Linked DNA regions of Homo sapiens: region 2 is linked to region 1. Evidence: promoter capture Hi-C in 16 types of primary human blood cells and fetal thymus (Javierre and others, 2016). All regions are on one chromosome and are shown on one strand. Each heading gives the region's core, a stretch centred on a gene start or on the middle of the fragment in contact. The rest is flanking DNA. Distances are from core to core; before and after follow the strand shown.

Region 1 (3,381 bases), core at 811-3,310:
GTGGGGCTGGTGTTGCTAGGGAGGGAAATGGAAAATTAACATAGGTAGAAAAGAAAATAGTCTGTCGTCTTGTGAACTGAGGGGCTTTTTTACTCACTCATTCACCCATCCTGGTGCCAAGATGAAAGTGGTGCAATAGTTCTGCAATTATGGACTCTTGTAACAGCTGTTCAGTTTTAGCTAAATGATGATTTGCATTTTCACCGCACCTTTTCCCCCAAGAGATGAAGGCATTTTACATTCAGTAATAAGGCCTAAGATGAATTGCAACCAACGCAACGTGCTTAGTGTGCTAAACACTCCTGTGGGGGAAAAAATACTGAACATTGCTAATATACCCTTGACCAACACTGGTAAATACACGAGCCCGGGCATGCATTGAGAAAGAGATTAAAATTGTGCAAAACTGCAACAGCAGTACTCTGCCTCCACAGCCGGTGTAATTTGCTTTTTGGACTGCTGGCCCAAAAAAGCTGAAGCTGGCCCACAAAAACAAAAACAAACCCCAGAAACTTAAAGTATCACAGCCAGGTTCACCAAGTAAACACTACTATTTCTAGTTTGCATTTGGATGTTTTCATTCTGTAGATGGCATGGATAAGCTACAAACAACAAACTAAAGTCTACAACGAGAAGGGAGAATTAGAAAATAGGACCGGGTTATCGCTGAGCGTCACAGGTTCTTTTATTTACCTTTGACGATACAACTTACAGATGCTATATGTTTTTAAAAAAAATCCACCGAATATGTCAGGAAACATTTCCTTCGGTCACTTCACCTCCCCTGGCGTCTCAGCCACCTAGACCTACGCTCTGCTTCGCTGTCAGGTCGCCTCGGGCGAGGAGGGTGCAGTAAACAGCGCCCACACAAGAACCCGGGGTGAGGCGGTTTCCCGTCTCTTCGCCAAGGCTCTGTGGATGTGGGTTTCTGAAACTCTACCACTCTTCTCAGCCCCGCTCCTCGCTCAGGCCAGGAAAAAAGAGTGAGAAAACAGCCAGAGCAAAACAGAAAACCATTAAGAAGCCCGGGCCTCCGCGCGCTCACCGCGACAAAACGCGGCGCACGGGGGGCGGGGCCAAGGCGCTGCGTAGGAGCTCCGCCCCGTCACCGCCCCGCCTCCTTCCCCTCACCCCAACCCTCCGCGCCGGGGAGTGACTGACTCCCGCCAGCCCCTCCACGTCAATCAACCCTCCTCGTTCTCGCACTCTCTGCACCTTGTTATTAATCTCAATACCGATATCGCCCGGACGCCTCTCCCCCGGCCCTCGGGGGTGTGAACGTGTGTGAGCGGGAGCGAAGGCACCGAAAGCTGGCGTCTCTGTTCAACCTCGGCCCCAGCAGCACCCGGCGCAGCGGCAACCCCCGCAGCGGCGGCAGCCCCAGCACCAGGAGGCCAAGGCCAAGGCCAGGCTCTGCGTGGCTCTCGGAGCAGTAGCCGCGGCTCCGGCCCTGCGGGGGCGCAGCTTCCTTCGGCTGGGGCCTTCGCGCCGGCGGCCGCGGCCGCGGGGCCTCTCTTGCGCGCCTGGGGTCACTGTCCTCGAAGCCCGGCGGCGCGGCCCTCGTCCCCCTTCCCGACCCCCGGTCTGTCTCCTCGCTCCCTTCAGCCGCCTTCCGCGCCGCCGCCTCTGCCGTTCGTCAGGCGGCCCGGCCCGGCCCGCCCGCCCCGCATCCCCTCCGGCCGGTGCCTCTCCCCTCCGGCGGGCTGCCTGCATGTCTTTGCTGCCCTCAGCCCCGCCGCCACCGCCGCCGCCGCCTCCCCCGCCGCCGCAGCACCAGCACCAGCCGCCCCGTCGCCGCCGCCGCCGCCGCCGCCCGGACCCCGGCGCGCTGAATGCAGGTGAGGAGGGGGCGCGGGCCCCCCGAGACCCCGGGCCCGGGTTCCCTGCGCGCCCGCCCGCGAGCCCCGGTTACGGGCCCTGTGTGCCGCCGCGGCTTCCCCTCGGGGCGGGCGGGAGCGAGGCCCGCCGTGGGTGTTTGTGTTTGCGTCTGCGTCTGCGGCCGCGGCTCTGGAGGGGAAGCATCTGTGGGGGCCTGGTGCGCGCGCGCGCGCGTGTTTGTGTGTGTGTTTCCCCTGCCGCGGGGAAATGGCTGCTGTTGCTTCTGGGCCAGAGGAAGAGAATGAGGTAGAGTGTTCTTTTGCCTCCGAGTAGGACCGAGAGTGTTGGGAAGAGGAGCGCGTCCCCGGGGAAATGAGGTGGGAGAGGGACAAATGTGCGTGTGGGTGTGCGAGTTGGGACTTTGGCGGGCGGGGAGGCGGCCCGAGGACCCACGGCGAGTGGGTGTGTGTCGGGTGACTGGAGGGGGCGGCGGGGCTGACCCGCGTCTCTTCAGAGGCGGGCGAAGGTTCCGGGGTGTGTGTGTGTGTGTGTGTGTGTGTCGGGGGTGGCCCGGGGCCGGGACCCCAGAGTGGCGTGTCCCTCCCGCTTTGTGGCTGCGGCTCCCGAGCCTCGCAGGTGAGAGCTGCTCCTAGGGGGCCGGCCGGGGAGGGCTGAGTGAGTGCGGCACACGCGCGGCAGCGGGGCTGGGAGAGCTGCTGGTCGGTGCCGCGCCGCTGATCCCGGGGCCGCCGTTCCCCGGCCGCGGCAGGAAGCGCGCCGGCCTGCAGCGCGGCCTAACTGCCTGGGCGCCCGCCCACCTCCCCGGACGCCTCCCGGGACGGCGAGCCCGCGCGAGCCCACGGCGCTGCCTCGGGCCTGGGCAGGTGAGGGTCGGAGGCGGGACTCGCCGATTGCCGTCGCCGTGGCCGCCTCCGCGTCTCCTGAGAGGCGAAGGCTTATTTTGGCGTTCCAACTGCAAGCCTTCGCCCGGCCGGCTGTGGGACCCGAGGGAGGAAAGTGAATCAGAACAGTCAGTCTTGGGAATACGCGGTGTCGTGTTCCCTTCTTTTCATCCTTCCCCTAAGGCTGTGTGGAGGGACTGAGTAAATATTTTGGATTTTTGTTGCAAATACTTTGCCGTTGGTAAGATTTTTTTTTTTTTAATTAGACAAACATTTTCTTGGAAGGGCTGAGGAAGAAAGGGAAACTGGCTTTCCTGGCCTGTGGGATTGGATGGATTTTGTGCATTTGAAATTGTTTTATCCTGCCTCCTAGGGGGAGAGGCGTGTACGCGCCGCCGAGCTGAGGAGCTGGGTGAGGAAGAGGAAGTTACTGGAGCTGTCATCCTGCTTAACTCGGTCGGCTATTGAGCTTAGACTGTTTAGGTGGATTGTGTTCAGGGAGTTTAGCTGAGCCGTTTGTACACATTGGAAGCACAGTGTTACATTTTACCGTATTGCCTCTAGTTATCTTGTCAATCAAGATAGGCTCAACAAACATGTTTTCCTCAGTCTCCAAAAACTAGATCAAGCAACCTCTGTTGTCTACTCAGTATGTGCTGCT
Region 2 (3,636 bases), core at 562-3,061, 4.6 Mb before region 1:
CAAATGTGGAGTCACTACCACTTTACGGTAAACATTCTTGGTATTACCTTTATGTGACTTGATTATTACGGGAGTTTGGTAAGATTATATTTTTAGGACGTTTTCAGAATTTGACCTGTATTCTTGAGTTTTAATTATTCTGTAATGTAAATTCTACTAACTTGATTAATAAAACTTACTTATAATCTTCCTTTGAGATTTTTGGATAGTGTCCAATTAATACAAATTCGTTTAACTGCAGTGGAAAATACCTAAACTTTTTTTTTTTTTTTTTTTTTGAGACGGAGTCTCGCTCTGTCGCCCAGGCTGGAGTGCAAGTGGCATGATCTCGACTCCCTGCAATCTCCACCTCCCGGGTTCAAGCGATTCTCCTGCCTCAGCCTCCTGAGTACCTGAGATTACAGGTACCGGCCACCACGCCCGGCTAATTTTTGTATTTTTAGTAGACACGGGGGTTTCACCATGTTGGTCAGGCTTGTCTCGAACTCCTGACCTCGTGATCCGCCCGCCTCGGCCTCCCAAAGTGCTGGGATTACAGGCGTGAGCCACCGCGCCCGGCCCAAATACTTAAACTCTTAAGATTTTTGCTGGAGTCTGCAAACTCGTCTTTGTTTCCCCCGTGCCCGAACACTTTAATTAAACAGGCAAATAATTATTTGTTGACTACAGAAGTACCTAGAAGCTTCATTTTCTTCTAAGGATACTGCTGGAAGCAGCAAATCCCAAAGCCCGAATAATCCAGTCTCCAGCCGAGGCAGCGGGAATTTTTAATAGGTGTATAAAATTACTTTTTATACACCTTAATGAAACGCCTAACGGTGTTACAAGAAAAGAAAAAAAAAAACCACGCACACACAACAAAAAAGCCAAACCCGAACACAAACTCATAAACCTCGTAAAGATGACTCACGACATTTATATATTCTATGTACAAAGGCTAAAGAACATTAAGCGAACCCTTGATTTAACACACTTTCCAATTATTAGTAACGTAAAGGAATCACGGTACGTTTTAGGATCTTTAAACAACAAAAGCAAAGCAAAAACAATGTTTTCCTTAAGATATGCAAGTTACCTGCTTCTTCGACCAAAAACAAAAAAATTCCAGGAGAAAAGCAGGCAAACAAAAATCTTACTTGGAAAGCCAAATCTTAAAAAGAAGCCCTATCGGCCCAGCGGCGATAGACGAAAACCTCAATGTCACCCGGTCCCGGGCGGCGACGGCAGGGAGAGTAGCTGCGGCAATCAGTGCGCGCGCGGTCCGCTGCGGCGCCTGGCGCTCCGCGGGCGTCCGGGTGGACAGCGCCAGGGGCACAGGGCTGACATCTCAGGGCTAATTCCCTCCTCCAGTGCGTAAATCCAGGCTTAAGCCGCCGCAGGGTGTGAGCCTCCCCTCCCCCACCCGAACGCCGCAGCTGCACGGGGCACGACAGCCTTCGCAGAGGTGCAGCCACACCCCGGCCTAACGCTGCTGCTCCCGCCGCTACTGGAGTGGTGGGGAGGGGTGAGTGGACTCCAGGAATCCTCGGAAGGGCGGGGGCGGAGGCAGGGGGCCCCTCTAGCCGCTACTTCGAAACAGCACTCCTTGTTCTCGATGGTCCCCGCGCGACTGTCTTAGCTCACGACACTTCCGGTTCCTTTTAAAGGCCCCCAAGGCTGTGCAACGCGGAGCGTGAGAGGAAGGTATAAAGGGTAGCGAGAGGGCGGGACCGAGGAGGAAAGGGAAAAAAAAAAAACTAGGGGGATAGGGGTGGGGGGACGCGCGAAGGGCGCGCTCTCGCGTCACGTGACCGGGACGCGCCGTTCTTCCGTCGGCCATTTTAGGTGGTCCGCGGCGGCGCCATTAAAGCGAGGAGGAGGCGAGAGCGGCCGCCGCTGGTGCTTATTCTTTTTTAGTGCAGCGGGAGAGAGCGGGAGTGTGCGCCGCGCGAGAGTGGGAGGCGAAGGGGGCAGGCCAGGGAGAGGCGCAGGAGCCTTTGCAGCCACGCGCGCGCCTTCCCTGTCTTGTGTGCTTCGCGAGGTAGAGCGGGCGCGCGGCAGCGGCGGGGATTACTTTGCTGCTAGTTTCGGTTCGCGGCAGCGGCGGGTGTAGTCTCGGCGGCAGCGGCGGAGACACTAGCACTATGTCGGAGGAGCAGTTCGGCGGGGACGGGGCGGCGGCAGCGGCAACGGCGGCGGTAGGCGGCTCGGCGGGCGAGCAGGAGGGAGCCATGGTGGCGGCGACACAGGGGGCAGCGGCGGCGGCGGGAAGCGGAGCCGGGACCGGGGGCGGAACCGCGTCTGGAGGCACCGAAGGGGGCAGCGCCGAGTCGGAGGGGGCGAAGATTGACGCCAGTAAGAACGAGGAGGATGAAGGGTGAGTAAGGGGCATCCCAGGATAGTCAGGCCCAACTAGTCCCCCTCCCCCTCTTTATTCCCCCGCCATTAGGCCTGGTTCCCGCTCTCAGCCCGTTCTCCGGGCCCCCATGCAGCCTCCTTGCACTGGTCTCCCTTTTTCTATGTTGGGTTCCCCGGACCTTCATTTCCTTCTTCCTTTGCCTGCTTATCGCCCCCCTCCCCCATCACACACGTTTCCACCTTTAGCCGTCACCATGCTGCTCCTCGGCCCGCCCTCCTTTCCTCCCTCGCCATGGGTCTCCTCCCACCGACTTAGCCGCCAGGATTTTTTCCCGCCTGTCGTGGGGTACCTTTTTTCTTTCCATGCTGTCCCCTCTTTTTCCCTTTTTCTACAGTCTTGGGCATAAAAACACAGACACAAACAGCTTCTCTGTTTGTATTACTAAGGTTTATTTGGTGCTTCTCCACCATCCTGAAACGATGCGATTGTTTATAAGCACATGTTTTGGGGAACGCGTAGGCTGTCCACCTCTGCCTCTCCCTTGTCGGCCTTAGGCCGACTGTTTTCTTGGGATTTTGAATAAGTTTCGCCTAAGGATTTACTCATTTTCTCCACCATACGCTATCGCACAATGGCATACTCATACAGGCCCTACATTTTGACATGCAGACCAAATTGGGTCTGGTGAAATGCTCCGAGTTTCTTGTTGGTACATTGGTTTTGCTCCGCGGGCTCTGGTTAAGTTCTTAGTCGATCGGGCCTGCACTTGACTGGAGCTGTTCCTATCTCCGGCCTAGCATCTACCCTTCCCCCACCCCACTGAGTTATTCTAACCGCGCACCCTTTTCGCGCCCTCAGCTATTGGGTTCCCCAACTGTTAGTACAGATTGTACCTTACTTTTTATGTGCAACCTAATTTTTTACAACCCCCAGCCCCCTTTTTTTCCCGGTGCCCAGGATCCTATTTTGGTGTCTTGATATCTGTTTCCCGCCCACTAAGGGAGGCCTGTAGTCCTCTTAAGAGAAACAAATCCTGTATTGTGCTATGGGATACTTTTTTTTTCTTTTTGGTGCAAATTTCTTAGTATTAACTTGCTTCCTCCAATTGAAATAACAGTTGTATATACTACCTAAATCTGCATTTAGTGTATTAAAATGCAGCATTTGGGATTGGGAACATAATACGGGAGTTAGCAGGAGGGACTAAATCAGGTTTCTTGGTTGAGTTTTCTTAGCTCCGATTACTGACCGATGATCGTGGGTTCACGCTTCCATTCCTTTTTGTAATGGGGAGGGGT

What was found. Contacts are between HindIII fragments. The CHiCAGO score rates a contact against its expected background, and 5 or more counts as called.
Region 2: a contact is called between the fragment with the promoter of HNRNPD here and the fragment with the promoter of CNOT6L in region 1, in 2 of 17 cell types (fetal thymus and non-activated CD4 T cells). The highest score is 13.0, in fetal thymus.

What each region holds. Positions count from the first base shown.
Region 1 is chr4:77,818,047-77,821,427 of GRCh38, reverse strand. It overlaps CNOT6L (CCR4-NOT transcription complex subunit 6 like), which reads left to right and starts at 2,060. Exons shown (of 12, transcript NM_144571.3): 1 at 2,060-2,124. The coding sequence starts at 2,120. RefSeq lists silencers at 1,014-1,163, 1,424-1,583, 1,624-1,723, 2,214-2,283, 2,364-2,763. The HindIII fragment of the contact is 6,822 bases long and covers 1-3,381 here.
Region 2 is chr4:82,372,166-82,375,801 of GRCh38, reverse strand. HNRNPD (heterogeneous nuclear ribonucleoprotein D) reads left to right here and starts at 1,811. Exons shown (of 9, transcript NM_031370.3): 1 at 1,811-2,356. The coding sequence starts at 2,124. HNRNPD-DT (HNRNPD divergent transcript) reads right to left here and starts at 1,234. Exons shown (of 2, transcript NR_183813.1): 1 at 1,137-1,234. RefSeq lists enhancers at 1,683-1,852, 3,213-3,262 and a silencer at 2,213-2,312. The HindIII fragment of the contact is 7,055 bases long and covers 685-3,636 here.